3 separate regions of the Homo sapiens genome follow, and regions 1 and 3 are each linked to region 2. Evidence: promoter capture Hi-C in human tissues and cell types (Jung and others, 2019). All regions are on one chromosome and are shown on one strand. Each heading gives the region's core, a stretch centred on a gene start or on the middle of the fragment in contact. The rest is flanking DNA. Distances are from core to core; before and after follow the strand shown.

Region 1 (3,048 bases), core at 160-2,659, 200 kb after region 2:
GGGAAGAGGGAAGGTTGGCAGGGGTCAAAATTACTAAGGGTTTCCTCAGCCAAAGGAGATGACTGGACATAACCTTGCAGACAAGCAGGCCAATGGCGAGATCAGATTGGCATTTAGAACGATTATTCCTTTATCACTGTGGCTAATTTCATTAGAACACCATTTAATGATCAAAGTTAGGCATTTTGGCTTTTAAACAGAACAATAATGGAAACTAAAAACATACCTTTGTGGCAATTATGTATCCTTGTGGCATTTTCTGTGGAAACGGGAAGTATCTCACAATGATACTTAGGCATGAGCTTGTCTTTTCTCCTAGTTTTTTTTTTCCCTCTCCCAGTATTGCTGTAAAGTGGTTTGTAATTGTTTTAGGAAGATTCTGACAACATGAAACAGAATCTTGATGAGAGCTGGTCCTGTGTTTAGAGGAAAGACTTTTACAGTCTTCTTTTGGTTTTCTGATTACTTCACTGACCACAAGACAATGCTGTGCTGAGTAAACGCTCATATATTTCTGAAGTTGAAATGATAAAATAATTATTTAAGATCTTTCACCCTTGTCAAAAAGAAATATGTCCTTTTCCATAAAAGTCATCTAAGAACATACTCTTGCGATCTTTTCTAATATTCAGTATGATGCCATGAAGTTTGAACTGCCATGAATAGACATTTGGACAAACAAGTCATGGAAGCCTTATCAGCTGAGTTTTATTAATGTCTAGTTATAATTCTCCAGTATTTTTCACAGAGTAGGTGATTAAAAACACCTTCAATAAATGAAATAAATGAGTACTGCTTTTAACTGGAGTAGATTATTTCATTTTATTGTATCTTTAAGACACAAAATCTTATTTGTACAATAATTAAAATATTTAGACTAGTCAAGCTTTTTTTTTTTTTTTTTTCAACTGAAGCCCTTCACAATGCTTTCTGGAGACTTACGGGAAAGAGGTGTCTTGCTTCCTGTTACAACAAGCATTTGAAACATCTACAGGCACAACCTTCGTGCCTCACTGAAAGATGCAAATACTGCTCATCCTCCACTGCCACTGCACACAGTAGGCACTCCACGTTTAATGACAGTGATGTACTGGTTTTCTATTCCTATTTTGCTATCTGCAATTCTTTGAGTAAGTTTGATGGTCCATTACAGTACAATGTCCACAGAATTCTCTTGGGCTATCTAACACAAATCCACTAGAAATTAAGTACCTAATTTTAAAAAGCTCTGTTTTCATATTAGAATCAAAAGCTCTGATATTCATTTAACCAATGTTCATTGTACACCTACTATGTTCCAGGTACACTGCTGGAAATATACAAATGATACCTTTCTACTGTCCGAGGAATCATAGTCAAGTAGGGGAAGAGATCTACAATTAAGATCTAATAAATGCTAAATACAGATCTGCACTAGTGCTATAGAAGTACCGCAGAGAGAGGAATTCGTTTTGAATGGTGTAAAAGGTAGATTGGCGCAAAACTCACAGAGGCAACATTTTAGAGGAGGACCTTATAGAACGAGGAGGAGCTCACAAGCCAGGGAGAGGCTGTGTAGTCCAGGCAGAGTAAACAGGACCAGCAAAGTACACAGGACTCCGAGCACAGAGCAAGTTAAAGAAAGGCCCAGGACCCTGGTGACTGATGTGAAGAGAGCGTGAGAAGGGGGATTTCAGTCCATAAACTAGGACCAGAGGATTACCTACTGGGGCCTCCACAGTTTCGCTAACAGTAAATTTAGAAAAGTAGAGCAAACCAGAGGTTCCCAGTGTTGGCAGCTGTAGAATCTTCTAGGAAACTCAGGAGGAGGATCTGAGGGGAAAAAAAGAAGAAAGGGCAGAGGAAAGAAAGGCAAGGGGGAGAGGGAGAGGAGGAAGAGGAAGAGAAGGGGCAGCAAAGGGGACACAGAGGAGAAGCCACAAAAGGAAGGGAGCAGGTCAGAGACACCAGAACAGGAGGAGGACAACTCGATTCCAGTTCCCAAACCCCCCACCGACTGATTCAGGATCTGCAAACCAGGGGCTGAGGAAGCTGCAGTTATTATGCAACCAGGTTTGAGATTTGTTAGTGTAAATTCTCAGTCTCATTGAAGAGGAGGTAGATGGTTTTTTCATCTGTTTTTGAAAAGAAAACAAAAGGCTCAGTTTGATGTAGATTTCTTAGACTTCAGTACAAAAAGAATGTATACTGGGAACAGAAATTTATTTTTGTTAGTGCTTTTATTGCTTTATCTTTTTTATTATTCTCTAGGTGCTTCTAAAATAAGTTATTAAGCCAAGCATGGTGGCTCATGCCTGTAATCCCAGAACTTCGGGAGACCAAGGCAGGAGGACTGCTTGAGGCGGTCGAGACCAGCTGGGCTAACACAGCAAAACCCCATCTCTACCAAAAAAATTTTTTTTAATTAGCTGGGTCTGGTGGTGTATGAGCACAGTCCCAGCTACTCAGGAGGCTGAGGCGGGAAGATGACTTGAGCCTAGGAGTTCAAGGCTACAGGAAGCTGTGAATGTGCCGCCGCACTGAAGCCTGTGTGACAGAGCAAGACTCTGTCTCTTAAAAAAAAAAAAAAAAAAAAAAAAACCTTAATTAAAAAAATTGAAATAAAATTAGATATTAAGAATCAATATGTTTTCAAGAATCTTGGGAAAGAATAAGAATTATTTTTTTCTAAGCTAATCACTTTAAAGCGTTCGTTAGATGAAGGTTCAGAAGAGAAACCCAGCGCTCAATGCCTAAGTGAGGTTATTTTAGAAACTGCTACTCCTGAGCCATTCCTATCTTCACCTGACTTGAGAAAAAGAAATAACTTTTTGAGGCTTCTTTTATCATTTGAAAACTTTACATGATGTCCCAGGAGACAGAAAGAATCATAAAATTCCTAAAGTGATGCCTTGAGAGTAATTAGTTCTAGATAGCTAATAATGGATGGTTGAGAAAACAGAGAGAGCTCCAGAGGTTTAAATAAGAGCATCTTTCCAAAGATTACAGCATCCCCATGCGACACGTAAGGTCTTCAAGTAAGAGGGTAGGAGCGATCCACTGACTTTT
Region 2 (3,014 bases), core at 363-2,862:
ATTCAGGTGACACGGAGATGCGCCTGCTACACGTCAGCGTCCTTCACATGTAACAGCCGAAGCTGCAATTTGAATTTTCCTGCCAACGTGAGGAAGCCGGGATTCGAACCGGGGAGACAAAAGGGGTCCCGAACATGTCCTTGGATTTAATAGATGGTCGGAAATCAGGGGCAGCGGAGCTGTTAAATGCGTCACGCACGCTTCTTCGCAGTCTCCTGAGCTCGCCACTTCCCCCAGCTTCTAGTGAACGACTTGGGATTCAGCCTCCGGGAGGGTCTCTCCTCAAGTCGCTAAAATGCAGAATCGCCGTGCCGGGGGAGGGAGGCCTGGCTCTTTCCCGCTCCTTCGTTTCTTTCCCTCATTTCTCTTCTTCCTGTCCCATTCCAACCACCCAGCGACGGCGAATCTCAGGCGTGTGCACAACGAGCGGGGGCCCTTCCGTGCGTGTCCCCCCAGAATCCTTGAACCGCCCTCTAGGTGCGACCCTGGACGTTCCCCCAGACACACCCGTTGTCTCTGCGAGCCGGCAGCCCCGCGCATGTGGAGATGGAGACTGGCCTGGGGAAGCGTTAAGCTCTTAGACATATTTATTTGCTTCTTGTCATCACACCTGCTAATGTCACCGAGCCCGCAGCCTGACCCCTCATCTGAGCCGAAACGGGCCTGACGGGATCAGAGGGGGCGGCGGCGCGGCGAGCCGGTGGGACCCTCGCGGGCGGGCAGGGGAGCGCGGGGCAGCAGCCGGGCTCCGGCAGCCCTCGCCGCCCGCACCCTCAGGCCGCCAAGGGCCGGCCCCCCGGGGAGGGGGGCGAGAAGCAGGGCGGCCCGCAGCGGGGCGGGCTCATCCTTCGCGGGTGAACGGCCGTCGGAAACTCCCAGCAGGGCCCCGCACCCCTTGCCTTCATTTCGGCTGGGGAGGGGTCATGGAGGGGGGCCAGATGGGCGACGAACCTTCTTCCCCACCGCGAGCAGGGCCTGGCTGTGACCGAGCCCTCAAAATCATGTCCTTTGTAGCCGAGTTCAGGACAGGAGAACCTCCAAGTGGAGAAAAGCCGGAGACGTCAGTGACCCGAGTGAGACTGGCGTTGGAGAAGGGAGGGAAGGGGCTGCGGGAGGGGAGAGGCGGCGGGGAGGAGAGGCTGGGGCAACCCCAGCGCTGGCGTCGGCGGGGCTGGCGAAGGAATGAGAGCGAGCCAGCACGAGGCGGGGCGGAGACGCCAGGGCCACTCGGGAGCCGTGGGCGAAGGAAGGGTCTGCACGGGGTCCCGGGAGGACCCAGGAAGTCTGCGCGAACGGCGGGCGTGGGTCCGGAGGGCCCGGGGTGGGAGGTCTGCCGGGCGCCGGCGGCAGGCAGGTGGACTGCGGGGGGCGAACCGACGGCGGGCCGGGCGCCGGCGCGGGCGCAGGGCCGGGGCCCGGGCCAGGGCGGCCGGCGCGCGTGTGGTCAGCCCCGCGGTCCTCCGGCCTCCGGGAGCGGGCCGGCAGGGCTCGGCCTCCGGCTCATTCGGAGGCGGTTCTCACCTCCCATTGGCTGCCGCCGCTGGCGGGGCGGGGCTCCGCTGCCCGGAAAAAAGTGTAACTGCGTAAAAAAGTCCTCGCCTGGGTGACGGATGCTCAAAAGTTCAGAAGTTTTCCCAATGCTTCCTTAAGCGGCTGGCGCGCGAGAGACCGAGAAAAGGTGACGCGGGGCCCGGGCAGGCGGCCGGCGCGCGGCCCCCCCCCCCCCCGCCCTGGTTATTTGGCCGCCTTCGCCGGCAGCTCAGGGCAGAGTCTCCTGGAAGGCGCAGGCAGTGTGGCGAGAAGGGCGCCTGCTTGTTCTTTCTTTTTGTCTGCTTTCCCCCGTTTGCGCCTGGAAGCTGCGCCGCGAGTTCCTGCAAGGCGGTCTGCCGCGGCCGGGCCCGGCCTTCTCCCCTCGCAGCGACCCCGCCTCGCGGCCGCGCGGGCCCCGAGGTAGCCCGAGGCGCCGGAGGAGCCAGCCCCAGCGAGCGCCGGGAGAGGCGGCAGCGCAGCCGGACGCACAGCGCAGCGGGCCGGCACCAGCTCGGCCGGGCCCGGACTCGGACTCGGCGGCCGGCGCGGCGCGGCCCGGCCCGAGCGAGGGTGGGGGGCGGCGGGCGGCGCGGGGCGGCGGCGAGCGGGGGCCATGCAGGCGCGCTACTCCGTGTCCAGCCCCAACTCCCTGGGAGTGGTGCCCTACCTCGGCGGCGAGCAGAGCTACTACCGCGCGGCGGCCGCGGCGGCCGGGGGCGGCTACACCGCCATGCCGGCCCCCATGAGCGTGTACTCGCACCCTGCGCACGCCGAGCAGTACCCGGGCGGCATGGCCCGCGCCTACGGGCCCTACACGCCGCAGCCGCAGCCCAAGGACATGGTGAAGCCGCCCTATAGCTACATCGCGCTCATCACCATGGCCATCCAGAACGCCCCGGACAAGAAGATCACCCTGAACGGCATCTACCAGTTCATCATGGACCGCTTCCCCTTCTACCGGGACAACAAGCAGGGCTGGCAGAACAGCATCCGCCACAACCTCTCGCTCAACGAGTGCTTCGTCAAGGTGCCGCGCGACGACAAGAAGCCGGGCAAGGGCAGCTACTGGACGCTGGACCCGGACTCCTACAACATGTTCGAGAACGGCAGCTTCCTGCGGCGGCGGCGGCGCTTCAAGAAGAAGGACGCGGTGAAGGACAAGGAGGAGAAGGACAGGCTGCACCTCAAGGAGCCGCCCCCGCCCGGCCGCCAGCCCCCGCCCGCGCCGCCGGAGCAGGCCGACGGCAACGCGCCCGGTCCGCAGCCGCCGCCCGTGCGCATCCAGGACATCAAGACCGAGAACGGTACGTGCCCCTCGCCGCCCCAGCCCCTGTCCCCGGCCGCCGCCCTGGGCAGCGGCAGCGCCGCCGCGGTGCCCAAGATCGAGAGCCCCGACAGCAGCAGCAGCAGCCTGTCCAGCGGGAGCAGCCCCCCGGGCAGCCTGCCGTCGGCGCGGCCGCTCAGCCTGGACGGTGCGGATTCCG
Region 3 (2,998 bases), core at 376-2,875, 180 kb after region 2:
TTCCAAAATTTAGAGGGTGGTTTTGCTCTACTGGCTTCTTATTCCAATATTGATAGAATGCCAAATTTACTCCTGATCATGTGTCTGAAATCTGTACTTCTGGAAGTTTTATGATCTTCTTTTTAACTCCAATGCTGAAATATGACAATAACAGTATTTGGTGTGGGTCTTTGTTCATCCACTGAGCTGGACAATTACACAGCCTTTACAATCTCAAGAATTACATTCTGCTCTGGGAAATTTTCTTCACATATTCATATGATAATTTCCTTATATTTTCCATCTCTCACTATGAAATTCTTATTAGACGTTTTCACTCTTCAGTATATCCTCTAATCCCCATGTATCTCATCTTCACCCCTTTCTTGATGCCCTTTCCCTATCTACACTCACTGCAATAGTGATCTCTTCTAGTTTCAACAAACGACTTCTTCAGGTTTCCTCCAGGGGCACTGTGGGGCAGTTTCCTGGGTCATGATACATTCCCCAATGTCCTGTGTTCTATGATAGTCTCAGAACCCATGATAAAATGACTATGCATTTGTGAGGTACTTCTCTACTCCAGGACGGCTTTAGGAGCCTATGAATCTGTTCTAGGGATAGAGATAGAGGTTAACATGAGCTTAAGAGTTCCAGCTCACTTCAGAACAGTTTACAAGAAATTCAGATAAACTTATAAATTCCATTTCCCCTTAAAGTAGGCCTGAACCAGGGTGGGAAACCTTAAATGACCTCTTTCAAGAAGTTCATGAACAAAAATCTGACTTATGATCTTTAAGATGTCCATGGACTTGATGAGTCTGCTTTTATGTCAGCGAATGTCATCAACTCCAGGACACCTGGATGTTTCTGAGCCACCGCAGGTGGAGACTGGAGTACCTTGTGTACAGAGGTGATACATATAGTTTATTGTGAAGGCAGCTCATCTTCCTACTTTAAAATGCCAAAGGAAGTCAAAAGCCACGTAGAGGAAAATTACTACCCTTTTCCTTCATTCTCTGCAATTTTATGGTCACCTGGAATTCTGGGTTTCTCATTTTGCTTAGTATTCCTGGAGAAACACAAATTCCCTGCCAGTGTATCTCACATCTCAGTGCTTCTCCCAAATGTCTAAGATTTTAAAAAAACAGAAAGTTTGACCAGCTTATTGCCAAAAATGAAGAAATGTTTGTACTCAGTTTAAAATATAATGTGCTTAGGTCTATAGGACAGAGTCGCCAATAATGGTAGAAGTGGAATGATGGAAAGGGCTTTACACACTTACGTGGGAATAACTTCATTTTAAGTGAACAGGGGATGAAGACGGATACTTCTAAACAAAGATTGGGTCAGTGAATGATTATCCCAGGAGGATGAGAAAAAAGAAACAACAAAATATAATGTTTGGATCTATCTGAGGAGTTTATCCTAACATTTTGAAATGAATTTACTGGCCACTTTTCCAATGCCCTATCAACACCTAGAGGGTTCTTTCTCCTTTTATGATAAACCCATGAAGATTTCCAGTTAAATAATTGCATTCCAAATCCCATTTACGTATGTCTACTCTAATCCAAAGATTTATTAATCTAAGATATTCTCTAAAATAACTTCACTGAGGCAAAAAAAAAAATACTTGGAAAATTGCAGCACCATATATAAACCACTGAGGTGGTACAAAACATTTAAATAAACAAAGACACATGTATATCAGCAAAAATCACAGGGAAAGGAAACTACGGCATTATATAGAAAGCTGGGTGTTTGGTTGGTGGTCGAAACCATGGAATGTTCTATGTCTAGGGACAGAATCTGAGGTCAAATCTGGTACTGAGAAGCTGCAGAAAATGTACTAGCCTTAGAGAATTTGGCCTCAGTTTGACTTCATAACACAGTAGGGTTAACACTGTTGGGTTGAAGGAATGATTAAATATCATTTTCAAAACTTCCTCTCAACTCTGGATATTAACAATGGTACCCAAATCATTTTATAGATTGATTGAGAGCTATATACATTTCCTGACAAGACCTTTATATGTGTACTATTCGGGACACGTCATTCTTATCCCAAATATATAAAAATCATATGGAACCTCTGAAAAGGAGACAGATGGTCCATTCTAGATTAAATGTATTTAAAAGTTAATTTACAGGGGTGAGCCACTGCACCTGGACGATGATATCCTAAGTAATCTAAAATGAGGCTGGGGTCAAGGTGCGGTGGCTCACCCCTGTAATCCCAGCACTTTGGGAGGCTGAGGTGGGGTGGGTGATTACTTGAGCCCAGGAGTTTGAGACCAGCCTGGGAAACATAGCGAAGCCCCATCTCTACAAAACAAAAACAAAAACACAAAAATTAGCCAGGCATGGTGGCGCATGCCTGTAGTCCCAGCTACTCTGGAGGCTGAGGTGGGAGGATCACTTGAGTCCGGGAGGCAGAGGTTACAGTGAGCTGAGACAGCACTACTGCACTCTTGCCAAGGTGACACAGTCAGACTCCGTCTCAAAAATAATAACAATCATCATCATCATCAAAAATGAATGTATTTTCATACATAGACTTCTACATGCTACCAAAGACTCTGAGGTACAGATTTTTTGTTTTTTAAGGAATTCCCAGTTATATCTAAAACCCACAAGGCATCAAAATTACACTAATGCATACAACACTAGTCTAATGGCTAAAATGACTGTGTGGAGTCTACTGATCTTCCTTCTGAATATTCATCCCTTTTCCCATATATCTGTATATATACATACAGATATATGATGCATATATGCATATATTTCTCTTAAATCATTTATTAGGAAGAGTATCTATGCGTGCCTCATAAACTGTATTTCCTTATTGGGGAAAAATTAAAAGGTGAATGAAACATTACAGATTTTAAAATGATAATCAAACAATGAGAAATGGGCAAATCAGGAGGAAATATGCTTTGAATGCAAATAAAATTTAAAGATTAGTTCAAAACAGAAAGTTCACATGAAATGCTTCAATGGTATAATAAGCTTTGCA

The links. Contacts are between HindIII fragments. The study calls those that stand out against the background at their distance.
Region 1: a contact is called between a fragment that was not itself captured here and the fragment with the promoter of FOXC1 in region 2, in 1 of the 25 tissues and cell types used here (pancreas).
Region 3: a fragment that was not itself captured here is called in contact with the fragment with the promoter of FOXC1 in region 2 in 1 of the 25 tissues and cell types used here (IMR-90 fibroblasts).

The regions. Positions count from the first base shown.
Region 1 is chr6:1,810,669-1,813,716 of GRCh38, forward strand. The region is part of intron 7 of GMDS (GDP-mannose 4,6-dehydratase); the gene reads right to left. Among named protein-coding and RNA genes, the nearest start is that of FOXC1, 200 kb to the left of the region's middle. The HindIII fragment of the contact is 9,150 bases long and covers 1-3,048 here.
Region 2 is chr6:1,608,303-1,611,316 of GRCh38, forward strand. FOXC1 (forkhead box C1) reads left to right here and starts at 1,613. Exons shown (of 1, transcript NM_001453.3): 1 at 1,613-3,014. The coding sequence starts at 2,144. RefSeq lists a silencer at 1,421-2,040 and an enhancer at 2,371-2,470. The HindIII fragment of the contact is 11,200 bases long and covers 1-3,014 here.
Region 3 is chr6:1,792,716-1,795,713 of GRCh38, forward strand. All of the region lies in intron 7 of GMDS (GDP-mannose 4,6-dehydratase), which reads right to left. Among named protein-coding and RNA genes, the nearest start is that of FOXC1, 180 kb to the left of the region's middle. The HindIII fragment of the contact is 3,808 bases long and covers 1-2,998 here.